Linked DNA regions of Homo sapiens: all the other regions are linked to region 4. Evidence: promoter capture Hi-C in 16 types of primary human blood cells and fetal thymus (Javierre and others, 2016). All regions are on one chromosome and are shown on one strand. The core of a region is centred on a gene start or on the middle of the fragment in contact, and the rest is flanking DNA. Distances in the headings are between cores, read along the strand shown.

The links. Contacts are between HindIII fragments. The CHiCAGO score rates a contact against its expected background, and 5 or more counts as called.
Region 1: a contact is called between a fragment that was not itself captured here and the fragment with the promoter of NTMT2 in region 4, in 1 of 17 cell types (M2 macrophages). The highest score is 5.2, in M2 macrophages.
Region 2: a fragment that was not itself captured here is called in contact with the fragment with the promoter of NTMT2 in region 4 in 4 of 17 cell types (M2 macrophages, M0 macrophages, M1 macrophages and 1 more); the score reaches 10.2 in M2 macrophages.
Region 3: a fragment that was not itself captured here is called in contact with the fragment with the promoter of NTMT2 in region 4 in 1 of 17 cell types (M0 macrophages); the score reaches 6.7 in M0 macrophages.

The regions. Positions count from the first base shown.
Region 1 is chr1:170,703,611-170,711,280 of GRCh38, forward strand. All of the region lies in intron 1 of PRRX1 (paired related homeobox 1), which reads left to right. Among named protein-coding and RNA genes, the nearest start is that of PRRX1, 43 kb to the left of the region's middle. The HindIII fragment of the contact is 656 bases long and covers 5,849-6,504 here.
Region 2 is chr1:170,905,595-170,912,313 of GRCh38, forward strand. No RefSeq gene overlaps it. Among named protein-coding and RNA genes, the nearest start is that of MROH9, 27 kb to the right of the region's middle. The HindIII fragment of the contact is 925 bases long and covers 4,391-5,315 here.
Region 3 is chr1:170,725,140-170,732,089 of GRCh38, forward strand. It overlaps PRRX1 (paired related homeobox 1), which reads left to right. Exons shown (of 4, transcript NM_022716.4): 3 at 1,081-1,262. Among named protein-coding and RNA genes, the nearest start is that of PRRX1, 64 kb to the left of the region's middle. The HindIII fragment of the contact is 978 bases long and covers 3,700-4,677 here.
Region 4 is chr1:170,141,797-170,148,670 of GRCh38, forward strand. NTMT2 (N-terminal Xaa-Pro-Lys N-methyltransferase 2) reads left to right here and starts at 4,163. Exons shown (of 4, transcript NM_001136107.2): 1 at 4,163-4,465. The coding sequence starts at 4,312. RefSeq lists enhancers at 3,744-4,275, 4,276-4,806. The HindIII fragment of the contact is 581 bases long and covers 3,689-4,269 here.

The DNA.
Region 1 (7,670 bases), core at 4,927-7,426, 560 kb after region 4:
CATCTTACTTGAACCTCACAACAACTCTTTAAAGCATTTAGGACACTTTCCATTGGTATTTTACATTTTATTTCAGAACTTGGGCTCTGTAGCCAAACTACCAGATATCAGCTGCATGCCCTGGGCTCAGGCAAGATGAGTGAGTTTGCTGAAAGACAGTGAGTGACAGGTCTGGCTCTCAAGGCTCTGTCTTCTAATTAATGTCATTTCCAGTCCATGTCAGCTCTTCCCCCTGAATACGTAGTTGAGACCAAAATACATAGAAAACAAAGAAGACATCATGAAAATATACAGCCATGTCCTAAATTGTGTGAATCGAGCACTAGCTCAGAGTTAAGGAAGGAGAATAATTAATGTGGCCTAGAGTACTGGGAAAAGCAAAGCAAAAATAAAAATTTTAATTAAAGGTAAAACTAATCAACTTACCCACTGACCATTTTTATTCTGAAATATAACTAAACATTGATTTCCCCAAGTGTTAAACTAGATAAATATAACTTTGCTTAGTTTTGTTAAAATTTATTAAATTAACACTTTTTAAAATTAAAATTGTATTGTGTCCTTTTGTTATACTATAAACACATTTAGAATATAAATGAAATAACATAAGTAAGTGAGGTGTTTTATGATCTTTGAAAGAAAGGCCTATATAAACGCAACCTCTCAACGCTGGGAAGTTATGAACACAATTAAGTTGCTCTCTCATGGAATTCTGTTCTTTCCAACTACACTGAGAATAAAGTGGGGGACATAGATTTCTACTTATTTTTCTAAAGTTCAAGAATCTCTAAGCTGTGGTTAACTTTTGGCATGAGACCACAAAAAACACACTCCAAATATTCATCATATTCATAGGTTAAGTAGGGTACACAAGATGTAATTGATTTATTGGCCATTGGTCACTGCAGTCATCGTATAGGCCTGAATGCAAACTTGCCTTCTCAGCTGTATTGTGTTCTTAAAGGAACCTTGAGAAGCAAGATAGACTTTGGAAAGTTGGTGTCATACATCTTTCCTGTTTCCTGTCCTTAGCCTCCACAAATGATGATCTTGGAGAAACTCAACTTCATGAGAGTCTTTGTTGGAACAAATAAAATGGTAAATAGATTTTCCCCAACAGATCTGCACCTGGTGTGTAATAGACTATACCCAAAACATTTCCAAATCTTCAATATTAGTCTTTCACACTCAGTCTGGAGAATAAATTTTTCTTCTGGATTCTCTCCTTTTGGAAGGGGCATCATCTTGGGATCAAACTAACAGGCCTAGATTCTGTTGTTACTGGATGCTTTGTGCCATTATTTTTCCAGCCCTGACAAGAAACTGCTCTTCTAGAGGGACCCATAAAACTTACCTAGTGGCTTTGGTCTGAACTTTGAAATGTACACTGCAAAGAGTTCCAAAGGCACACATGTTATTTGGGTCCTAGTGGAATGGTCTCAATATATAAACTCTCACAATGTAATGGGAGAACATCCTTAGTGATTCACCTTAAATGTACCCCATTCTTTTTTTTTGTCACCACTTTGCCACTTTCCTGCTCCATGTCTGCATTACGTAGCAATTTAAGACCTCATTTATATAGCTCATGGTTGTGTCAACCAGCATAATCTGGCAATTCACTTCACTAGGAACCTTACATCCTCTGCCTTGGTTTATTTAAATTTTAGACATTATATATACATATTTTTGGCAGGTTCTCACTCTGTTGCCCAGGCTGGAGTGCAGTGGCACAATCATGGCCTCAGTGCAGCCTCAACCACCTGGGCTCAGGTGATCCTCCCACCTCAGCCTCCCAGGTAGCTGGGACTACAGGAGCATGCTACCACACCCAGCTAATTTTTGTTATTTTTGTAGAGACAGGGTTTCGCAATGTTGCTCAGGCTGGTCTCAAACTCCCAGGCTCAAGTGATTTACCCGCCCTGGCATCCCAAAGTGCTGGAATTACAGGTGTAAGCCACCTCTCCTGGCCCTGAAATATCTATTTAAAATATATATTTTTTGTTTACTGCTAAGTTCAGCAGGCAGTGATATCATGTGACCTATTGTCTGGGAGCTCCTACCAGAAACTACTATGTCAAAGTGAGCTAGCAGATACAGTTAGTACTGTACTAGGTAATGACAGTAAGTCTCAGCAGTTTTAGTGGGCTACGTAGAGAACTCAAACAAGTAAAACTTTTGCATTGCAAGAAGTTGTTCCTTCTCATGTGAGCAATTGAATCTGCTTCTAGTTCTCATGTTTCTAGCACTGCTGTTACCAGTTCAATTTTGGGTTCTCTGGGCTAAGTCACACATATACCCACATAGACACACACACACACACATACACACACACACACACACACACACACACACACAAACATTTTATGAGAAATTATGCCCCCCACCCTTAAATGTTAGATTTTTTAAAAACTCTGGAACTTTATAAATAGTTTTTCAACAGTTTTCTTTGGTCTCTTGTTAAGTATTTGAATACCTGCTAAATCTGAACATTATCTTTAAAAGTTATCTAAAAGAAAATAAGCATTCATGCAATGTTGAAATAACCCTGATATCTGCAAATATCATTACTAGTGTTATTTAAAAATAGTCAAAGACATTGCAGATTTGACCACAGGAATGTATATCCATGGAATTACACAGTGTCTAGTTAATCCATTGTTAAATTTATAGATTCCAAAAATGGAGGTAATTAGCAATTAAGTATATTATTCTTTACTATATACCTCTTTGAAGGCACAGATGTATCTATTGGTCAAGTACTTGAAGAGGAGTTTGTAATTTAAAATTAGAAAGAGTTATTAAAAACAATTTAATACTATGCCCTTTTTCAACAGCAACAGTAATAGAAACCTAGATTGGCAAAGTTACATTCTCAAGATCACATGACTTTTTTGGGCCAGAGACAGAGAACTCATGTCGTCTGGCTTCTGATCCACTGACGTTCCCCCGTACCCCATTATATAAAGTTGACTTCTCATACATTTCTATGAAAAAACTTTACTAACATTGAATTGCTGAAAATGTGGGAAAGAGTATAAAGTTATAATTGTATAAATTTGGTCTGGGGCTATGATTAATTAGAGACAAGTTTTGATATAAAAAATGGGTTCTCTCAGGTCAAGAAGTTACCTATATTCGTATCACTTGGTGACCACCTACACTTCATGGCCAGAAAAGCTTAGTGCCATTTGGTCTTGGGAAGACCTGAGACTGGTGCTCAAACCAGAAGTCTCAGCAGGGCACAGTGGCTCACACCTGTAATCTCAACACTTTGGGAGGCTGAGGCAGGAGGATTGCATGAGACCAGGAGTTCAAGACTAGTCTTGGCAACATAGTGAGACCCCAAACCTAGCAAAAAAAAGACTGCTGGGCATGGTGGTGTGCAACTGCAGTCCCAGCTACTGGGGAGGCTGAGGCAGGAGGATCACTTGAGCCCAGTAAATGAGGTTGGAGTGAGCTGTGATTATGCCACCGTACCCCAGCCTGGGTGACAGAGTGAGACCCTGTCCTTAAAAAAAGGAAAAAGAAAAAGAAAAAAAAAATACCTGGATGTCTCTAGGAAAGAAAATTGTAATAATCCTTCTAGTCAAGAAGCTTTCTCCTCAAACTAACAGATCTGTAGTAAAGGAATAAGTTTAATGATATCATCAGGGAAAGTATGACCACTACAACTAAAAAGCCCTAGTATGGAAATAACCAAATAGAACAAAGTGAAGGAGCCCAGCAGGGGTCTGCAGAACACAGCTGAATAGCAAGAAAGGAAAATATTTCCTTTTAACTCTCTTGTTGGCCAGATAAAAAAAAAAATTAAAATGTAGCTTAGAATGTCCCCACCTTTGCCCAAATCAGTTACCATGCACACATCTTCTTTAATTGATTTAATGCAAACACTGTGTTTATAAAATCTGATTTTCTCAAATCCTTTCTTCCATCTACTCATCCAACCAGTATATGTTTTCTATAAGAATCTCCTGAGTCTATGAAATTTTCATGTTTATTCCTAGGATGCTTTATTTTAAAGGTGCTGACTTCTGAGTAAATTAACCACATAATTATACCCTGTGCCATTTTAATCAAATAGATTAAAGAAAAGAAATAAGAAGGCTTGTCAATGAAACTTTTACCAATTGTTGGAAATGCTCTTGCAGTGGAATTAAACACTAGTATATCCAGTTTGTCCTTGTTCTTGGTTCAACATATTACTATCAAAGTCCTTTTTCAAAGTAATTTAAAAATTGGAAAATTTTTAGAAATAGGGAAAACCTGAAAAAAGACCCAAGGTTATATGAGGAAATATATCTGTAATTGTCATGTAAGTCATATTGGAAACAGATGCCAAGGAAGAGAATGACCCAGATGGTGATTAAAGAGTCATTGTCCTTCCTTAACCTTGATTATCTTCCTTTTCTGGTTATCATTTTATGTTTAATCAATACAACTTTTTCTTAGGTCTTTCCTTCATCCTACTTTCTTCCTGTTATGAGTTGAGCAGTGTAAATTCTTCTTGCCAGATTTCAGATGATGAGGATTTGGAAGTGCTGGTCACGACATGAGTCACAGTGACACACAGATTACTCATAGATTTCCACTCCAGGCAGACAGAATGACTATTAACAAGGACTTCTTTAGGGCTGTTCAACAACAGGGGACATGATTCAATGGAATAAGATTATTCCACATGAATTTTTGGGTGTTTTACCCAAATGTAACTTTTTTTTTTCTCATATGACCTTAGTGCATCGGCTTCCTTACTAGTTAAAACAGTCGCATATCCTTGGAGAGGAAATCACCATATAATTAAGGCTTAGGTGTGGTTGACAGGCCGTAATGTTCCTGTATATTGGAGAATGAATTAGCCAGGCTTTTGCCCAAGCTCCTTTGCCAGAGAAAGGGAACAGAAAACACGGTGACTGGAAATGACTAACTAGAAGAAAATACAACCTCAAGCTAAATATGTTTTTTGGAACATAGAAATAACTGTATCAGGTCAAGCCTTTTGAGACTTCCTTTGTCTTTTCTAGGAGCAAGATGGTCAATAATTCCATATGTATCATCATTATCAAAGTCAAACATTTACTGAGCACTACTAAAAGGTTTAGGGCTCTATTCTACACACTTTGTTCACCTGCCTTCAAGGCTTACTTTCTAATCAGAATAATTACTGCTGCAAAGTCATTCACTGAGAAAGTGCATGAGAAACCTGCATAACACTTGATCCTGGAATTTACATGCCTTACAAAAATGCAGTAAGCAGGAAATTTTGTGTGTCAAGACCTTATTACAGAAACTGATCCCTGAAAGAGTGGTCAGGTTTGGTGGCTGAGTGTGAATGGACCAGGTTGTTCAGAGTAGGCACTTTCACCAAGCAGAGTCTAACATATTAATTTAATAATTCTAAGAGAAGTACCCAAAATATGGAAGACTAATGTCAGGTGCCGGGATAGCACAGTTAACAAGTCAGGTAAGGTGCCTACCCTCATGAAGCTATATTCTAGTGTGAGACAATCAACATAAATAATTACAGACTGTCATAAGTGTTATAAAGCAAATGGTTAAGATGCTGGATGAAGAATAGTGAGAAGACTACTTCTGGTTGTTGATCACAGAAGGTTCCTACAAAGAACTGACAGGTCAGCTGAGACTTAGGAAAGGAGAAGGGGCCATTAATGTAAAAGTTAGTAGGTATGGGTAAGGTCTGTGATGTGTTATTAGGCAAAGAAAGACAAGGTCAGAGAAAAGTATAAATGAAAAGGACAAGAAAATTATGTTTTTATCACCATTAGCAGTACAACTAGAGTGGAGTGATTGGGTGAGAAATAATAGATCAGCTGAGAAAAGGATGCTAAGCTTCAGGTATGACAAAGAGAGGCCCATGCAGTGTTTTCTAACCTTGCACTCTCTTTGGTATATCTGTCCTCCTTCCTGGCCCGTTCCTGGCTCTGATGGTCACCAAGTGTACTGGAATATTTTTTTTTTCTACTATTACTTTACTTGTCAAGTGCTTTTGACTTCTTTCTCCAGATCAGTTAGAAAGTAAGTATCTTGAAGTGCAGACAACATACAACATTTCTCTCTACTCAGAGCATCTCATCGCTTGGCATGTAGGTGCTCAATAGATATTTGTTCAAATGAATGAATAAAGTGATAGGGAGGATGCTAAAGTCAAGATTGAATGTAACCATTGTTAGTGGCATCCATTTTGGGATTACCCTAAAATGGTTGATATAGGCAGTGTTTGCAGCAAGGCTGACGCCACTTGACTCATGGTTAAGAGGTCAAGGATGGCAGAGAAATGAAGTATGTAGCTATTCTTATTTCCTTTTAGTAAATTTAGAAGATAGAATAACTCTTTATAGTTATTCTAAAAAACATCTTAGGTTTCTTCTTTCTCTAGACTGTGGTTAGAGGTAAACTAATGTCTTCTAAAGATTCACATTGATTTCAGTCTGGAGTTTATCCCTGCAGAGTGCTGTGGGCATGGAGGAATATGTCAATCATTGAAGCTTTCCTCAGGCCTGGTAATTACATTACAGCCCTTATGCAAGATAAAATCCAGCCTAACTTTTTCTCAAAAAAGTAAAAAAACACACCACCAACACCATCACCACCAAAAGAATATAATTCAGTCATCATGCTAAATGAGCAATTATTGAAAGTTTTTTATTAGGCTAGGCATTGGAAGTGTAAAAACTATCCTATAACTCCACAATGCTGAATTTGAAACAGATCTTAGTCCCATAGCCCAACTTACAATTATGCCAGTTAGGACACTTGAGGGCTAACATCACAGGCTTTCCCAGTAACTCCCCTGAATTAGAATCAAAGTCTCCTTATTTCCAATCCAAAGCCATTTCCACTATTGCTCCATAATACATATTTTACAATAAAATATAAGGAAATGTGTACAGCTAGTTGTCACAATTTGTATCATTTAAAAATATATGTATCACTTGTATCTTAAAGCAGTTGTCATGGACTGAATGTTTACATCCTCCCCAAATTCATATATTGAATCCGTAACCCCCAGTGTGACACTATTTGGAAGTAAGACCTTTGAAAGGTAATAAGGTTTAGATGAGGTCACATGAGTGAGTCCTCATGATGGAATTAGTGTCTTTATAAGAAGAGACCAGGAAGCTTGCTCTCTTTTGCTCTCTCTGCCATATGAGGATATAGTAAGAAGGCAGTTGTTTGCAGGCCAGGAAGCAGGCCCTCAACAGGAACCCATATAGGCCAGCCCCTCTTCCTGAGGCTTCCAGCCTCTGAAACATATTTCTGTTGTCTAAACTACCCAGTCTATAGTATTTTGTTTTGGCAGCCTGAGCTGACTAAGCCAACAACCCATTTTACAGATACAGAAATTGAAAGCTTCAGATGTTAAAGAATGGTAATTTCCTCAAAAAAGTCAAGCTTTAAGCCACTATTTACACTTCGACTTTTCTTATTTTTTAAACAAAATTTGAATTTTTGTTCTTTAAAGAGAATTTTATTTCATCTAAAAAGTATTTAAAAATATCAAGCTTCTTATTTTGACCATTTTAGCATGTTTTCATCTTCAGATTTATTTGACATCCAAGACCAGAGTAACACCAAGAAGAACTTTGATATCCTTTTCAGCCCTCTTCATTTATTCTATATAGTGTTACAGAATTACCTTTGGTTCTATC
Region 2 (6,719 bases), core at 3,603-6,102, 760 kb after region 4:
GAGAATGGCATGAAACAAAATCAATATATAAAATATATATATATATAAAATATATATAAAAAATATTTCCAGATACTGACAATAACATTTGGAAAATAATTTTAAAAATAACATTTATAACAGCTCCCAAACATTTAAGATACTAGAGCCAAGTTTAGTGATAGAGATGCAAGATATGTACATGAAAATTACAAACACTACTAAGAGAAATTGAAGACATAAATAAATGGAGAGATGCATCATGTTCATCAATTAAAAGATTCAATATTGTTGTAATGTTAATCCTTTTGAAATTAATCTATGAATTCAAAGCAATACCAACCAAAGTCCTCAAACATTTAAGAATTAAATTGTCACACTGTTTATAAAACCTATATGAATCCAATGGAAAAAGTAAATAGATCAAAAAACAAAAGAGTTCAGAAATAAGCCTATATCTTTACTGATTTCTTTCTTTTATTTATTGTTATTTTTTACTAAAGTTCTAAAGCAATTTAATGGGAAAAAAAAGACTTTTCAACAAATAGTGTTGGATCAACTGGCTACCTATATGAAAATAAATGAACCTCAACCTATAGCTCATGAGACATGCAAACAATTATTTTGAGATGTATCACAGACCTAAACATAATAGCCAAACTATACAGCTTGTTGAAGAAAACAAAGGAAAACATCATCTTGAAATGGTTATAAGCAGTAATTTCCTACACATTAACTATAAAAGAAAAAAAGTGTCAAATAGACTTCATCAAAATTAAAAACTTTGAAAGATTCTGTTAAGAAAGTAAAAAGACGAACCATAGACTGGGAGAAAAAAATATATAAATAATATACATACATAATATATATTATATATTTATATATATCATTATGTAGTATATTATATACTATATAATATATAAATATGTGTAATTATACATTAAAATGTTTATTTTATGTATATAAATTTATACATATTATATATAATATATATAAAACTAATATATATATCAAAACAATCTTAAGAAAAACGAACACACACTATTAGATTGCAAACTTAACATAAAGTTATGATAATCAAGAGAGTGTAATATTAGATTTATAGATATTAAATATGTGATATTTAATAATGGACAAGAATTAAAATCTTATAAAGTTATTGCACAGATTAAATGACACAATGCATGCAAGGTGCCAAGATTGCTGGGTTCATAGTGTATGCTCCATAAGCACGAAGCATCCTTGTACCACTTCTTTTCTCCCTGTTTTTGTTTACTAAATTAGAAAAAATTCAACTCACAATTACAGATTGTTGGGAACAGATGAGTCTGTTGACTCTGTCAGATTCATATTCAACTTGGACCCAGGAACTCTTAAGATTTCTCACTGAAGAATTCAATACTGTGACAGTTCCCAAGTTGACTAGTTTCTCTCACTTGAAGTATGGAAGAAAAAATACCTCAACTTCAGATATTAGGGCAAATGGTTTTCTTTCTTTTTTTTTTTTGGGGGGGCGGGGACGGAGTCTCGCTCTGTCGCCCAGGCTGGAGTGCAGTGGCGCGATCTCGGCTCACTGCAAGCTCTGCCTCCCGGGTTCACGCCATTCTCCCGCCTCAGCCTCCCGAATAGCTGGGACTACAGGTGCCCGCCACCACACCCGGCTAATTTTTTGTATTTTTAGTAGAGACTGGGTTTCACCGTGTTAGCCAGGATGGTCTGGATCTCCTGACCTCGTGATCCACCCGCCTCGGCTTCCCAAAGTGCTGGGATTACAGGCGTGAGGCGCCGCGCCCAGCCAAAGGCAAATGGTTTTCTAATCCAGCCTTTAAAAAAGTTTTGACTGTGGAAAGCATTTCCTAGTTCTCTCTTGCATGTGTTGTTTTGTTTCGCTTTGCTTTGCTTTCCTTTGTTTTGTTTTGATGAGTATTACTCAATACTCATCAATAATACATACTTCCTCATCAATAACACACTATCCATTTCTTTGTCCAATAAGAAAAGGAAATTCTCAAATTGAAGGGAAAAGTAAAGATCTCTGTGATATCAGTTCAGTCTTCTTTTTTAAAATCCTGATATCCTATTCTCAGTAATAAAAATGGTAATATTTTGGCCCCAAACTAACAGGCCACTCTATATAAATGCTGCATATGTTGTTGAAATATATTGCCTAAGCAAGTCACTGGAAATTATATAATTGGTCAAATGAAATTTCCAGCATCAATAGGAAAGTTTTAATATAATTCCTCATTTCAAAATCTCACATTGCCAGTGTTGACTTAACAGCCAGGGAACTTCAGTGCGTAAGAGCAGGGTTGTACAGTTGCTTCCATTTCCTTACACAGAATGTTAAAAAGACATATCAGTCACTGTCATTTAATCATATTTGCACTGTTTATTTCAATATTTCAATCAAGATCAAGTGACATTTTGCTAACCATTAAATACTCTGGGAAAATATAATAACCATAAAGATAAGGAGAAATAGCGTTCTCTAGCAAGTTTCAGTAAAGTTACTGCAGTTTAGCTAATCATTTTGTGAGTTTCATGAATAATCAAGGCTTTAGTGTCTGCCTAAATAGTTTAGAATTTAGAAATAGAGATTTTAAAGAAGGAAAGATCTATGATAGACTCCTTCATTAACCACTAACCTCTGAGATTTCTCTGTTATATGCTCTCATAGCACCATAATGTATGAAAGCTGTATAAATGTAATAAATGTGGGATGTAAATGATGTGTGAATAACATGTAACAGTATTTATGTGGTATTTGTGTATTTATTATTTCTCTTTCCCACTGAACTGGGAGCTCAGAGAGGGCAAGCACTATTTGGTTTCGTGTTCTATAGCCACTGATTAGCAGAGTGCCTTGCACATACTGAGGTTTCAATACACATTTCTTGAACATGTAAATAAGTAAAACAGTTCAAATTAGAATAGAAATATAAGATAAAAATTAATATGAAAATTAAGCTAACCATCTTTCATATAATTGCTAATGAGCTATTAAAAGATTGGCATATAAATTACAGCATTTCAATGTTCTCTTTAACTTATTATTTACCTTTTCCAAAGTTGAACAGATACATTTTATTTTGGCTTATTTAGACTGTACATTGCTTCAATCACATAGGTAACAATAAGTAGAAAGATGTATTATCTCTATTTTGAGCTAAATTGTCCATAAAGATTTTTCTTGAATCAGAATCTTAGCTAACAAATGAAGAAGGAAATCACATAATTAGAAATCACCATTTTTCAAACTATAATAAAATACTGGAGGTAAACAGTGATCATCAATACATACTAAAATAATTAGATGAAAAATTGATGGAGAACATTATAGTAGATGGCTCAGGCTGATAGTACCTGAACCCACTGATCTTAATATCACAAAAAATAGTAACAATTTGACATTTTGTGAGTACTAGTGTGATGTATTAGAACATTCACAACATTATCTGTGAAGTATTTTTGCCAAAATACATCTTATAAAGCCTCTAGATCAAATTTCTGGTTTATAGACGCTACAGGGCATAGAGGAACATGTTAGTGACACTGCAGAATGCAATAACAAAGTCCAGACTATGGGAAATTCTAAAGATTTTTTTCCTCAGAATAAACAGCTCAGTTTCCTCCACAAGTATATGTCAAGGGGAAAAAAGAGGAAGAAGAAACCTGTAGTTTAAAAGATCCTTAAAAGACACATCAACCAAAGGCAATGTGTAAACACTTCTGGATTCTGATTTGAACAAACTGTAAAACAAAACAAATACAAAAATAAGATAATCAGGAAAGTTTGAATACTGGCTGAATATTTGATCAAATTAAGGAATTACTTGTCTATTGTTTTAGGTGTGATAATAGTGGTGGAAATCTTTTAGAGACACACACTGAAGATTTGTGGATGAATGATATGTAGGATTTGTTTCAAAATAATCTAACTGAAGGTAATTAAGGGATGTATAGATAAATTATGTTTGGTCATGTTTGATAATTATTGAGATGGGTTGGTAGGTATACGTAGATGTATTATAATGTTCTTGTTACTTTCATATATGTTTTAATGTTTCCATAATAAACAATGTAAAAAGAAGGAAAAAACAGGCAGAAATGAAGATTGAACAAAGTACAGTGTTGTGATTCAGAATATAGCTCTGGAATCAACTGCCTGAGATTAAATTCCAACTCTACTACTTACCAGCTGAGGGACTATGGTGACTAATAAATCTTCTTGTGCCTCAGTTTCCTCATCTGTACGATGGGGATAATAATGGTACTTGGCTAACAAACTTGCCAAGATTCGGGGAATTAATACATATAAAGCATTTAGAACAGTGAGAGATAAACAGTATGTGCTAATACATGTTAGCTATTTAAAAGCAAAGTTATCCTAATTAGCAATTAGTTTTAAAGCTTAACTGGAAGACTTTTCTTTGTGCCAACTTCAATCACTTGGTAGTAGCTTCCTAGAGTCTTGAGAAGAATATGATTTTGAGACCAAATGTGGACACAGCAAAAAATAACTTACACTTAGGTCTGCAAGGGTGGGAAGAGTGGGTTTATGTGGAGGTATTTATCAACCTCTTTCTATCACAGGCAGTTTTCATAAATTATGGAACTTTGTAACTAAACTAATCTACTTTATCTCTTTCTTTTACTGAAGAGAGACTTGAGTCCAGAGAAGTCAAGTAATTTGCTAAAAATTATACATTTGGCAATTAAATGGTCCCCAGAACCCAGATCTCAAGGTTCCAGTAAGACAAGTGATGTGTCTCATATCTCAGCATTGCATCTGTGGGGAAATTACATTCATTCATGAAACCAATTATGACTATAATTGCAAGGCATCTTATTTTGAGATTTGTAAAGTGGTTCTAAAAATTGAGAAACATAGAAAGAAATCTGTGCAGTGGGGTTGACAAGGGTTGAAGCAGACAACCAGAGCATCACTCCCTGGCTAGCAGGAAATTGAGTCATTCTTCATCATTCATCCTGTTTTGCAAGGTCAAGTTTCCAAAGGATTTTGGAGGTCAAACTGTAGGCAGTAAGGCCTATAAGCCTCTAGGACTCTGGTTGTCTCCCTTATTTGACCCTTCATGGCTGTTGAGACCTATCTGTATGGTCACTCCAAGAACTCAGTAATGACAGTGACACAGATCATTTCTGAGGTCTGTTTGGAGGTATCTGAAAATATCATTGATTTGCCTTGAAACTAAGGCAATATTTGTTTTATTTGAGTGTCCTAACTGTTCACAAGGAACATCCAAAGTAAGCATATTCTTTCCCAGCAACAGTTTTCAAGAAGGACTGTAAATTTCTTGCATTGCCAAGAACAAAGCTTTAATCTGTGAGGCATTTGGGAGGTAAAGAATATTTCAAAGTCATATTCAAACCTCTGTCTTAAAAGTTGTTCTTGGGAGATTTCAGCGGCTGAATTACAGAAATGTTTACAAGGAATTCAAAATCGAAGCTATTATTCAAAACATTGTTTTTCAAAGGTGCTATTGATTAAAATGGGCCTTTACAAAGGTCTATGAAACCCTTTTCATGTCTCCTCACCCTGTAAATTGTTGATGGGAAAGAAAACTATGAAGCAGTTACTACTCATAGAGACCACTGGCACACAGCGAAGCATTTTCTAAACTAAGCAGCAATTTCAAAAGATTTTACTGTCTTATAAACGTTTCCCAATGGCAAATATGCTTGCAAGAGAACCATTGTTCTAGCAATGATTGAACTATTTACAGTCTCTCTTGACATCATGTCTCTCTACATATCCTTTCAGACATTTGTCACTATTCTTTGCTACTACGATAAAATTTGATAAGCAATAATTTATAAAAGGTTTGTTGCAATGTGCAATCTCAAACTATACCTATAAACTTTGCATGCTCTGTTACATTAAAATCCACTTGTCTGTCTTGCACTTTGAGGAGACCTTTCACTCATGTCTGATTTTGTAACATTATACGTTGGTAATTTGGAACATACTGGTTTACCAAGTTATGCAGATCTTCCAAATGCTGACGCAAAATCACAGTTATTAATATCACTGCCAATTTCATCAGAAAAGTTTTTCAGTATTGGGAAGCTGTCAAACTCATGGTGGTGGATAACATTTTCCAAGATTCTAATTTTCTCTTGAAAACTTCAGTTTTATCATTGGCAACAGATACTTATTTTCCCTGAAGTGACAGACTCATATCATTCATTTTTGAGAAAATGTCTGCCAAATACCCAAGTCTGAATAACTGTAGTCTGTCATTGCTTCATTCAAATAATAAAAAAGAGTTTATAGAGTGGTCTGTTCAGCTCACAATTCAAATACTCACACAAGTGCTTTTCCTTGAAAATATGAAACTAGCATATTTCTCCATGTAGCAGAAGTACTTTATATGTATTTCTCAGTTCATTATATAGAATATTTAAAAATTCATTTGCTGACTTTGCTTGTTTTGTTTGGTTAGGTTTTGGGGAGGTTTTGGTGGGTTTTGTTTTTGTTTTTGTTTTGTTTTTACTGTATGTATGCGGCAGTGGATAATGTGGTGACTACTAGTACAGTTTGGTGCCCTATGTCGATTCATGCTGAAGGACTAGCAGTTTTATCCAACAATGGTTTTGCATCATCGGTGCATTATTATTAAAACAGTTTTGACCTCATGGACCTCCTGATAGAGTTGCAAGGACCTCCAGGGATGTGCTGATGACACTCTGAAAACTGCTGCCTTATACAATGACCC
Region 3 (6,950 bases), core at 2,939-5,438, 580 kb after region 4:
GACTTTGCTGAAGTTGCTTATCAGCTTAAGAAGTTTTTGGGGTGAGACGATAGGGTTTTCTAGATACAGGATCAGGTCATCTGCAAACAGAGACAGTTTGACTTATGTAGCAAACCTGCACATCCTGCACACGTATCCCAGAACTTATAAAATAAAATAAAAATAAATAAAATTAAATTATAGGTTTATTATTAGTTGTAGCAAATGCTGTCAGTGCTGTCCATTTCCCTTGAACCCTACAATTAGGTGTAGTCTGGTCAGCTTCCAACTTTCAGTGCCTGCATTTCTGTGCCAGCAGTTTCTTCCTAGAACTTCAGGAGAGTGCCCTGCCTTCAGCATTCTAGAAGTGCTGGAACATTAATAGACAATGACTGACAGGATCCAGTGTACACACACCCAGCTCTATCACCTCCAAGAGGGATAACTCTGAAGTGTGTGTTCTACGTTAGTCTTAGTCTTCAGGTTCTCTGCAGGATTGAGCTACCACAGAGATAGCTGGTTTAGTAGTACACCCTTTAGTGGTTGCCTTTTCATCTCTGTTACTTCCTTGCTCCCCAAATGGTGGTCTTTGCACCTCCCAAATAAAACATTTCCTTCTTAAATCTTTGTTGGAACATCTACTTTTGGGAGATGGGGAATTTTCTTAAAATATAATTATTATGAAAGCAGATGAAATTTTCACATTTTGAAGAATTTTGAAAAAGCTTTTAGAAAAGTCATTATTTCTGTGGCAGAAGCCTAATGAGATTTTTCTTCACTTTTCTTGATTACAATTGTAACAGGGATTATAACCCATATTTTGCTGTCCCGTGGGTAAGTCACAGATCCCATATCTGGAGACCTGATTACTGGAGAATTTCATGGTCTTGTTGTAATAGTCTTGACCTTTAAGAATGGCCCTCATTGAGGGAAGGCGGATGGCATGTTTCTATTGTTCTACGGAGAATTCCATAGCCATCTTATATCTTCTTTGGGAAGGCATTATATAGTAAAATCAAGCAGAATTTCATTCATGTAACCCCTTCTTCTTTGTTTTTCCTCTCTTTCCTTATGCCTTCTTGCCTCCTAACAATCCTCCAGGTGTGGTTTCAGAACCGAAGAGCCAAGTTCCGCAGGAATGAGAGAGCCATGCTAGCCAATAAAAACGCTTCCCTCCTCAAATCCTACTCAGGAGACGTGACTGCTGTGGAGCAGCCCATCGTACCTCGTCCTGCTCCGAGACCCACCGATTATCTCTCCTGGGGGACAGCGTCTCCGTACAGGTGAATGACTGGCCCACTCTCCCTTGCTCCACTTCCACATGTTTCTCAGCGGTCGGTCATGTTTCAAGCTGCTTGTGCAGCTCACCGACATTTCTTACTGGGTTAATCTCTTCAGAGACATTCAACTTGCTGACATCCCCACATTTTCCCAGGAGATTATAAGCTGCCCCAGCAGCAGGGTTTGGGGCAGAAGTGAGAGGGGCAGGCTATCTCACCAATCTCCTCTTGGACTCAGGAACTCTTGCAAAGGTTTCAAAGATGAGGAAGAATCTAAAAGAAAAGATCATTAAGCTGTGCCCAGTGTTCCTCTTGCAACAATTCTGGAACAAAACTTTACCCTGTTTCCAAATTTAAGCTAAATTCGTTGTATTATGCAAATGTAGGGACGTAACTTGTAAAACTCCAAGTATAGGGCCAAAGGCAAACTTTGCAGTAAAACTGGCTTTGAATTAAAAAAAGGAAGAAGGAAGGAAGGAAGAAAGAAAGGAAAGAAGGAAGGAAGGAGAGAGACGAGAGGGACTATGACAGAGAGAGGAGGAAAGAAAAGCCAAGTTCATTCTGATCACTTTCATGGCCAAGGTTCTTTGTTAGTAGGTGTGAATTTCTTATAATGCCAAATGCCTTCCTAATCTATTGCTAATTCTTGTCTACTTGTCTGAAGTTTTCTCTGGGGATCAGTTTGTGTGTATTTGTGTGTGTGCGTGTGTGTGTGTGTCTGTGTGTGTTTCTTTTAAATAAAAAAGGAATGTATAATTTACACTAAACTTTTATATTAAAAAGTTGAACATTTTTAAAGAAACAAATATCAGAGTACTATTTCAATCTCATAAAGAGGCTTTTAACCTCCCATTATTATGCTGTTCAGAAAATATAGGCTGCCAGAAGGGAAGCTGAGACACAAATTCCTAACCCATTGGATTAGTCTAGAGTGACTTTCTTTGAAAATATACCTGAGTACTCTGAGAAACCAGGCCAAGCCTACGTGTTCTCCCTGGCTGATTTCAGTGGAGGAAGAACTATTCAAAAATTCATTTATTATGCTTTTGTTTACCTTTTTATTGTCAAGGTTAATTATTGGTTTAAGGAGAGGTTTTAAATGAAATATAGGAGATTATGTCTCAGATGAAGTTGAATTTCTGACATGAAATGCTACATTTTTGAAATGCAAGTGTTTTTCAAAGGTTCTTAGCTTTAATCAAAGCAAAAAGCCTCATCTAAAAGTTTCTTTCTGTTCCAAATCAGTTCCTTTAGAGAAACATGGTAAATGCACTTGGAAATTTGTTTTAATCCCCTGTTATAAAATTAGCCTGAATTCTTTTTGTCTTAGCACATAGAGACCCTACATCTAGGAAAGTCTTATTCTGGGCCCTATTGCACTCAGATGTGGTGTGCCTTACTGATCTTGAAACATTAGTTATATCTGTGTGCCCTATTTTAAATTTAAACTCCTCTCCTATAAGATTTACTACAAATACATTTTTTGAAGACCACTGTAAAATCACATATTCTCTAATATTTTAAATAAATGAAAGGCTGCTTTATTTCTCTTATAAACATTGGTATAAGAGAAATTTGGTGTGTTCATGAACACGCTAAATGGCTTGGAAAATGGGTGTGGTTCAAAGCCTGATGCTTCAAGATCTCTGGTTTGAATTTGGTCACAACCAGGAAGTATTGCCCCTTTTTCTGTCTGGGTCCTCCATAGGAACTTTTCATACCAGCCATAAACAATCCAGATGGCTGCCACGTGGTCCTTACCAGTGAGAGGCGTCACACAGCACACACTGCATGAATGGGGATGAAATCATTCCTGAATTAATATAGGGTTATATTACTTGGACCTCAGCCATTTGAGCCTCAGTGTCTGCATCATATGTGTTTAGTATATGGACATCTAACTGAAATTATTAACGTGGCAATTTATGCGTGCCTTTTTTGGAAATATTCTATTTTAATGGAAAGAATTATGTAGAAATACTGGATACATTTTTAAAAACATCCATAATTCACCATCTTGACATAACTAGTATATTCATTTTTGTGATTAGAGTTCAATGTTTTATATAGATGTAGCTTTAGTGTATATATTATTTTGTATTCTGCTCTTTTCACTTAAAGTCATATGACCTAGTACATTTTACTCATTTCTTGGTATGCTTTTATATCATTTCTCTCTTAGAAATTGGATTTGTAAAAATTAATTTAGAAAATCATAAAATCTGTTCATATTCTGTATGAAGAATAAATTAATCTTCAGATATAAGCAGAAAAGTGATGTTAAAACAATAATTTAATCAATAATAATGTTTTTTGATCCAATGTTGACTGAAGTGTTTATATTTTGGTTGATTTCTAAAAGTAGCAAAAAGCTATTCTGTTATTTGGAGAATTTTCTGCTATGTTTAGAACCAAACTATGTTATGATTTCACACTTTGAAGCTTGATAGGAAATATTGTTAAGGAAATAAAAAAGAAAAACAAGTGATCCAAAGCAAAGGAAATGATAGACTTTTGTGTTATGAAAAATTAACTCACTGTTCTTGTTGGTACTATTATGTCAAGTTAGTTATCTCACATGTGACACTCATTAAAAGGCATTTCTCTTGGTTAATTCTTGGAACACTGTTGTGTGATAGCTCTGTCTTGCTGTGCTTCCAAAGAAGAGACTAAACACTTGCCCAAATTTAAGTCTTCAGCAAGGAGAATTAGAACTAATGCTTGTGTTCCCTGTTTTCATCCAACATGTTAAGCCACACGACTATATTTTCATTCAAATTAAACCTTGCATTGTATTGAAAGTAGTAAAAAAAGTATAAGATTGGAAAACTATCTAAAATCCCCTTTTTATGCAAGAGATATCTCAGATCAGTGAGGCATGCCTGCAGCTGAAGTCCACACTCTGTGGGGACCTCATCCCATTGGACTGATAGACGTGGCTTGGTCATACAAGCCAGAGACAGTGAGCGACAGTTTTGCCAGAAAGGATATTTTGCTGACTTCCACAGTTATCCCCTGAAAAAAGAAAGGAGAAAACCAAGGCATAAAAGCAGTTATTTGCATATGGTCAGAATTTTGGGTTGGAAAATAGCCAACATACTTTTTTCTGGGTGTCTTTTACATCCAGAGTCATGGATGTGTAATTTATTGTTCAAACTGGGACATTTTTTAGAGTGAAAGGGGAGCATTATTAATAATTATACTAGGACAACAGGTATAAGCCAGGATTGTCCCTAGCAAACTGGGACATATAGTCTGCTCTAATTATAGCTTGTCATGACCTCACTCATTCCCTTGAGCATGTTAGAGGTGATGACATTAGGCAGGCAACTGAGTCACCAGAGGGACAAAGCATTCCCTATCACGGACACTGTTGTCCTGGCAGGTGCCTTCTTTACATCCGTGGCCAGTTAAAGGAAGCTTGTTTTTGGCACACACACCCATTGCTTAACTCAGAACTATTTTTCTTAGGCAACTTGTAAGAGTGAAAGCACACACAAGCACCAGAATTATTCAGACTCACTAATCTTGCAGTGCTTTGCTTCGTGCTTCGTGGGTAGCAGTGATCAACCAAGTCCTGAACTTTTGACTGTTATTTGAGATGAAGTAGCCAAGAAACATTTTCTCAGAGACATCCTTTCCTAGGTGAAGTGGATAGTGAATGGCCTGGTTTTGCATTATTTACCTGAAGTGCCATTTCCAGAGGGAGGGCTGGGCTTAAAAGAAAGCTAGTGATGAGTGAAAGAGAGGTCAGCTATCCTTGTCCACAGCTTCCCTCCCCATCCTTCTCCTCCCCTCATTTGATCGTGGTCATGGTGCTGCCTGACATCTGCTGAACGCATTTGGCTTATTTCTCCCTTTCACACTTTCAAAAATAGATCCTCGTCCCTCCCAAGATGTTGTTTACACGAGGGGCTTCATAACGGATTCTAACGGAAGACACTGAAAAGGTAACTTGTCAGAGGGGGAAGAGGGTGGCTGCTTGGGGTAGGGTTTAAGTGGGAATTCAGAGTGTTTAAGAAAGTGGGGGTTGCAGTTCTAGAAATTTCAGCAGTGAAGTCCTCAAGTGAGGAATATTATTGGTAACCAGAGCTGCAAGAAAGCATGTCCACTAAATGAAGCATAGTGTGATACTAATCTAGAGCAGGGCTCTTCAGAGATTGCTGTGCACAGGAAACATCTGGGATCGCGTGACTGTGCAAACTCTGATTCACTAATTCCAGGTTGGAGCTTGGATTGTGTATCTCTAACTTGCTTCTAGGTGATGCTGATGCTGTTGACACTTGGTACACATTTTGAATAGCGAGACTTTGTAGGTTACAGGACGGGGTTCGGAAGAACTACGTTCTTGTCCTGGCTTCTGCTGCTCCTCAGGCCAGTCAGATCATTGCTCTCTTATGCAGCTTTGTATCTAACATGAAGCTAGCAATAATCTCCCTATTGCTTATTTCACAGGGGTGTTTGGAACCTATCGATAAGCAGTGTGCGCTTCAAAAAAAGTCTTGCAACAATAGAAAGATACAAGAGGCTTTATATATAAAAGTATTTCTAAAATGAAAAGTTAAACATAGCAGAAAGATCACTGAACATACAGTACAAACGGAAAGCTTACCAATGAAATGTGCAAGTGTGTTCACTTTAAGAGATAAATATACGTATTAGAAAATCAACTTCTGAATTTCAAAACAGAAGTTAGAAATAGAAGTTAGTTATTTAAATCACAAAAGATCCCTTTCCAAAGAATTTACCAGATCTCTTTTTAAAAGTAAATTTCCCTAGGAAAACTGGTATTACATTTTATCAGGTGAAGCAAGTATGCCTCCGTTGTTCTTGCACTGACAAAAGAACAAACCCGAGACTTTCTGCAACTTCTATGCATCACAGTCTTGAACACCGTAACCCCTACAGTCTTTGAAAAAATCCTGAGCTGGTGAAACCCAAGGATTTCAGGAAAACTCATAGACTTCTCGGCTGACAGATTTGTCTTTAGGGTGAAATTGTAAACATCTTGTCATCATTTGTTCAAAGGGCCAAATAGAAAACAAAGAGTTGAAAATAGAGTCAGGTATTATTTTTTTCCCAAGCTATCAATTGTTTTGTGATTTGTGGGACTTAACACTATAGGTGTTTAGAAAGCAGAGGGGCAGTTGTCCATACGTTTCCTGGCTTTAAAATCGTAGTACGAATAGTATTTTCCATACTTCCTCAATGTTTGACAATCATTTTAACACATTTTTTTTTCCTCACAACTTTCAGGGTAGGTTGAAATGATAAAAAATGATTTGTCCCAGTGAAAACAGTACTCCACCTCTGCTAGTGGTTAGCATTCTGCTCTCTATGGCTGTGTTGCATCTGTTAGGAATCTCCAAACAAGTAAATGGAAACATTTGAAGCTGATTTAAATGTGTCAGCTCTGTGTAAGTCTCAGGGCAGATTAGCTGAATCAACAGATGGGGTGCAAGCATTTATTATTAATCTCTAATTTCTCAATGCACTTTATTCAGTAATGTGGTTTCTTGGTCACTGACACAAAGAACTTAACTAAAACTAACTAAAAATGGGGCTTTAGCCAAAGCCTAAAAACTCAGTCCCAGAACTTATGTCTGTACCCCACTTCCAAGAATAAGTGGGTTTTACTTAGAAGGCAAGACCAACAGGCAGGATCTCTGGTTGTTGTTAAGCAGGCTTCTG
Region 4 (6,874 bases), core at 2,913-5,412:
AACAGTAGTTACCCCCCGCCCACCAAGGGATCCCCTGTGAGATGGAAAACCAAAATGGATAAATTCAGAGTTTCTACCTTCTCTTGCTGGAGTCATATTTCTTTCTTCTGCATTCATTGTTTTTCTTTCCTGCCTGGAAATTGATGACTGGTAGACTTGAGATCTATATCATAACCTCATTTACTGAGTATGAACATAGCCAAGAATGGTGTGAGGTGGTAGCAAATAGAGCATTGCAGCTCTGAGAGAAAAAATATTGGCATAAGGAAACAAACGCAATGAGCCAGAAATTGGTTCGAGCTATACCAGTATGAGAAACAGTCACAAAATCCAATGTGACCTACAGAGATAAACAAAACTTGACAAAGGCATTTTGTAGAAACCAATCAGTCTTTCACCCCACTCAAGAATTATGGGTATGAAATATAGAATCTTAGAACACTTAATAATCCTCATTCAAACACAAATAATTAATGTTCATTTTATAGTGGAAGAAAATTAGTTCTGTAAAAACTGAGAAACTTGCTAATATCAATTGCCAAATAAGCAATACTGAGCGTCTTGAGCCAGTGATTGCCAGTCTCTCTCCCAGCACCAAACATCCTGACCTTTTAAGCATAGGAGGGGTCATCAAAACATCACTGAGATGGGGTTAAGAACACACCTCTTGTTAAACGTATTGATGAATATAAGTAACAAAAGAGAATCCCTTCATGTTTTTCTTCTTTTACTTAATTTATTTTACTACAGCAACAAAAAATTCCAAAGGATGGATGAATGAGCTCTAACAACACATTTCATTTGGATTTCTTTTCAATTCTTAAATGCATTAAGTACAAATAATCTGGATATGTGTTAGAATTACTTAAATACAACAGAAGAAGAACCAGATAGACATCATGTATTTTGAGGACCTATAACTTATTATTAGCTTACTCCAAAGGATTGTAATGATAATAGTTAACTGATGATAATAACTGAACATGTACTGTGTATTAGGCACTGTGGTATTTTACATGGATTATTTCATCTTGCCCTCACAATAATAAAGTAAGACATATACTATTATCATCATTTTTATATTAAAGAAGATTAAAGTGAGGCTCAGAGAGACTAAGAAATCAGTTAGTTGAGGTAACCCCATATATAAGTGGTGGCAATGAATTCCTAACTCAGTCATATCTGCTTAATTCCAGGTAAGACCCTTCCTTCTTAATACCATGAAATAATCACACCAGAAGTTTCTTTGGTCTGTTTGATGTCATCTACTCTATCTTCATCTTCATGAGAATTCATTGAGTAAAAATGATTCAGGATGGTATTTGTATTAGACAAAACTCCATGTTGCTAGTACAGAAAACTCAACTCAAGCTGGCATTAACAATAACAGACTTAGATAATGTGCCCACTCAAAAAGGAAAACTGGAACCAGGGTAACATTATGTACTGACCAGCTCAGGCGTGGATGATATACCCATCTGTGTACCACAAACTGTGGGAGGGGCAAAATGGATAACTTGAACTGCAGTTTGGGCAATTACTGAAGCCAAGGATGGGGACAATTCCACCAAAATTGAATGGCTGTCCCTTTACCTGGAGAGGGAGAAAATGGCAAAACAGAAGCACAAGAAGATGAGGGAAAATAAATCAGAGTCAAATAATTGGAATCCTTACTTCCTCTCTCAGTAAAAGATTGACACACAAATAAAACTTAAAAAAAGATTATGGCTACATTGTTTATCTTCAAAAAATTCTGGCTGGGCTTACTGGCTCATGCCTATAATCTCAGCACTTTGGAAGACTTAGACGGGAAGATTGCTTGAGGCTAGGGGTTTGAGACAAGCCTGGGCAACATAACGAGACCCCGTCTCTACAGATAAAAAAAAAAATTAAAAAAAAATCCAGATGTGCTGATGCATGCCCATAGTCCTAGCTACTCTGGAGAATCAGGTGGGAGGATTGCTTGAGACTTGGGAGATTGAGGCTGCAGTGAGCCATGATCACACCCCTGCACTCCAGCCTGGGTGACAGAGCGTGACCCTGTCTCAAAAAAAAAAAAAAAAAATTCATGGACAATGTATGAATTCATTGTATCTTGTGGCATTGTAACAAATAATCCCCAAACTTAGTTGCTTAAAATAATAAACACATTTCTGTGGATTAGTAACCTGGGTATGACATAACTGACTTAGGGTCTCCCATCAAGTTGCAGCCAAACCGTTAATTGGGGAAGGATTCGCTTCCAAGCTCACTTACACTGTTGTTAGTGGATTTCAGTGTCTTCTGGGCTGTTTGACCTAGGACTTCAGCTCCTTGACATGCAGGCCTCTCCACATGGCCACTCACAATAGGCAGCAGTCTTCCCACATGGCAAACAAGCAAGTGAGAGAAAGAAGACACCTAAGACAATCTTTTAATAACCTCTTCTTAAAAGTGACATCTCATCACTTTCACCATATTTTATTCTTCAGCGGTGAGTCCTTAAGTCCAGCCTATACTCAAAAAAAGAGGATTACAGGAAGAGGTGAATACCAGGAAGAAAGAAGATGGGGATTCTTATGGACTGCTGTGGACTGAATGTTTGTGTTCCATCAAAATTTTTATGTTGAAATTCTGAGCCCTAATGTGTTGGGATTTGGAGATGGGGGCCTTTGGGAGATAATTAGGTCATGAGGGTGGAGCCCTTATGAAGGGGATAAGTGCCCTTATAAGAAAAGACACAAGAGCTTGATTTAACTCTCTGCCATGTGAGCACACAATGAGAAGAGGGCAATCTGCAAACCAGACAGAGGGCCCTCACTAGACATGGGATCTGCCAGCACCTTGATCTTTGACTTCACAGCTTCCAGAACTGTGAGAAATAAATGTTTGTTGTTTAAGCCACATAGTCTTTGGTAATACGTTAGAGCAGCCTGAACTAAGACAGGGGTCACATTAGAAGTTGCCTACCATAATGTGTGCATTTGTGTATATTAGCATGTGTATATGTACAGGCAGGGGGTCTGTGGGTGCACATGGCATAGGGCCAATAGTGTATTGAGATCTTACACATTTTCCTGTTAGGAACATAAGGGGAGGAAAACAGTAGTCATGGTCCCTGTAGGGAACAGATGGAATTCACAAATTGGGAATTCGAACTGGTTTAATAAAGGGACTATTTACAAATATGTGGGCAAGTATAGGAAAATTACAAGGAATTGGGCTTGTCACCTGATACATCACTCCCCCTGGGCCTCAAGCAGTCAGGTGAAGGAGAAATGAACAGAACCAGGAGAGGATATTTGTATGAGAAGACCCTGGTCAGACGTATGACCTTTTGTTAAAGGATATGGTCAGCTCATGGCATTTCCACAGAGAAGGTGCCAAGGGAATAAATACCTTGACCTCACTTTCCTCCTGTCTCCTCCTGGCACTATCCATTGGCTAAAGCCAACTAGAAGCTAGAGGGCAATGGAGTCCACTGATGTAGGTCAGCCTCCTGGGGAACACATAGTAATGTATGAAGAGTGGAGAGTGTATCCGGAGGGACAATCAGAAGATACCCGGTACAGAAAACAAATGTACTTAAGAGGAAAATTATATTCAGAGTAGGCAGAGAGGAAGAAACAGGCTTACATGAATAGTTGTTGTTTACAGCAAGCTAGATGGAAGAGTTTGCTGACAGAGAAGGATATTTAACGTCAAAACAAGCTTTCAAATAATTGCTTCTCTTGAAGATCCTTCAAAATAGGAAACACATACACATTTCTATGAAATTATTTGGGAGAAATTGTACTGATGAAAGGAGCATGAGTGGCTAAGATGACTTTGAAGGGTCCTTGTAATTTGAGGATTCAGTGTTCTACGAGGAGTGATGGAAATCAGGGAACAAGATCTCTTGCAAAATATTCACAACTCTTTGAAATGGAAATTAGGCTATTCCAATTTAGAAATCAAATTAAGGCAAATATTCAGGGTGTTAGCAGGCTGTGCTCTTGCCTGTTTGAAGTGGTGGCTAAAGGAGAGAGGCGTGCTTTTTCCTGGATGAAGCAGGATCTCTCTCAGCCAGTTTTCATCCTTACTTAGCACCTGCTGGCTTGGAGTGGTGTCACCCAAGCAATCAGACGGAGGGACGTGCCAAGAGCCTGCCCTCCCCTCCCACTGTGTGCTGCCCCTCCTCCCCACACCCATGACAGCCTGTCCTGATATAGATGGAGAGGGGACTGGTTTAAAATGACAGTCTCAAGTTCATTTAGAAAGAGAAGGCTAATTCAAAGAAACAGCAAGGCAAGCTTCCTTTCTCTGTAGGAATCATTATTATCCCCCTTTGTCATGGCCCACCGGGGAGCCCATTTTGCCTTTAGATCCCGCTGGCAGAAGACCGACGATGAACTCTGTAGACATAGCATGTCTTTTATCCTTCACAAAGCCATTCGCAATGACTTCTTTCAGAGCTATCTCTACCTGCTGGAAAAAATTCCCCTGGGTAAGTGAGTCAGAGCTACTAGATAAGAAACAAGAAATGACTGATGGGATTGCATGAGGTCATGGGGCTTCTAGAAGAGAATTTAAAACAAGGACACTTTTCAGACAAAAAAAACTCCACAACCAATGTCACTGGGCTGAAATGTTTCAGTGGAATTCTTTATGGAGAATACAAAGATTAAGTGCCTAAAATAGAGTCAGGACTTTATTTTGGGATTTCCATGCACCCTCAGGCACTGTGATTTGCTTCTCTGGGTGTCTGTTGCATGAGTATCAGGCTTGTAGAAACTCAGACATGTTTAATATTTACAAAAAATTGTAATTGGGCAAATTTGATAATTCAAAGATGAGAGTATTAATGCATTAATACATTGAGTAAGAGTTAAAAAGAAAGACTAAATAATGATAGATCAAAATGTGCTTGGGTTATGTATGTATGTTTCTGTGTCTGTGCTTGTGTACACACTTACAATCCTCTGCGGTCTTCTTGAATCACAAGAATAGTCAGAGAGCCTAAAAAAAGGAGATTTTAGCTTGGTTTTTGAATATTAAGAAGTCAGTGGTCTGTCTCCATTTTTGTTATCTCCTCTAGTTTTCAGAGAATTGGACAATAGAGCAATAAAAAGCTTATCTGTTTTGCCTACTCTACTTTTTTCAGCCTCTGTGAAAGCAGTTACTTCAGGGCACCCTAAACAGCACTGAAGAGGAAATAACTTACCATTAAAGAGTAAAATACCCTTCTCCCTTTGATTTGTATTTTCCCCCAGTGAAAGCAAGAAGGCTGTGTATCAGCCTAGTCTGTTTTCTTAAGGTCGTTTGAAAGCCCCATTGTGCACTTGATGTGGTCAGGGTTTCCAGCTGTCGAAGCAGCTACATAATTCTTTGTATTGCATTCAAGCAACCGAATGTTAGCAGCCTACCAAAACCTTTTTGTAAATCCATTTATGAGGGATCTTTAATTCTAAACATACAAATACCTTCATCTCATATTTATATAACTTCTTTCTAAAACTTTTTATCGTCTATGACTTTATTTGATTCTCATAGTCACACTATGAAATAGATAGGGTAAGTTATCATTTTTTTTTCTACCTATCTTCCCTCCTTCTTCCTTTCATTTTACTTTTTCAAAGGAGGGAAGTAAAATTCAGAGATGATGATATTTAATCTAGATAGAGTAATATGAAAGCAAAGACCAAAGTCCAGGGCTTTTTTTTGGTAGATCACACTGCCCATGAGTAATTCTTTTAGGACGTATAATACATCTCATCTATATCCAAAAGGAAAAAAAAATACAGCAGTTTAAATGGAAGGTGATGATGTTCTAGTCACTTCATATACTGGCAAAGCATTGCTTTTCTGGAGACACTCTTCAGGCCATACCTCAATAAGAGTAGGTTGGTAGCTTTGGTTTTATTAGACTGGAGAAAGATATCAATTACAACAGCTGAGAAGAGAGTCACTAACAGGCAGATGACTGTCAAACTTTAAAAATATTTACTAGAGAGAAAAAGAAGTCACCTTTGAAGGCAGCTGAAGATGAGTTAAAAAGTTGAATACAATAGTCTCTTCTGAAAAGCAGATGAAAATTAATTTGGCACAAATGGACTATAATTTATATTTAGTCTCAATCCCTTTTTTTGTTCAATAAAATCATTTTGATTTTGTGTTTTTCTCCTTTGTAAATATGCTAATGTTTTACCAATGAGTTTTGACCTTTTAAAAAAACATTATTATCAAAAGGCAAAGTTTTTGACAAAATATTCCACTGACGCCCAATGTAAAATACAGGAAAAAGGGAAACTTTTCTGCATAGGATTGGGGGCAGGACCCTTTCCTTGGTCTATTCTCTTAGACTTACCACTGTCTCCTGAGGCACTCCTTTTTTTTTTTTTTTTTTTTTTTTGAGATGGAGTCTCACTGTGTCGCCCAGGCTGGAGTGCAGTGGTGCAATCTCGGCTCACTGAAAGCTCCACCTCCCAGGTTCACTCCATTCTCCTGCCTCAGCCTCCTGAGTAGCTGGGACTACAGTCCCCCGCTACCATGCCCGGCTATTTTTTTTTTTTATTTTTAGTAGAGACGGGGTTTCACCGTATTAGCCAGGATGGTCTTGATCTCCTGACCTCGTGATCCGCCCGTCCAGAGGCACTTCTCTAATACCTGTGGGGTTCCATAAACACAGTTTGAAAACCATTAGTCTATCCCAAGCCAACATTGCCTTCATTTTACTTATTTGCAGCTTTCCATAAATGGGCATTGCTTATTTTCTCTGACCCTGATGATTTGACCTGGACATTAGTTTGCCTGAGAGTCACAGAGCTAGCCTCATCCACAGTACCTCTTTGATGATAGAAATTTAGGGCTATGTTAGTCAATATGGACTGGGATAGGCTGCAGTAACAAATTAACT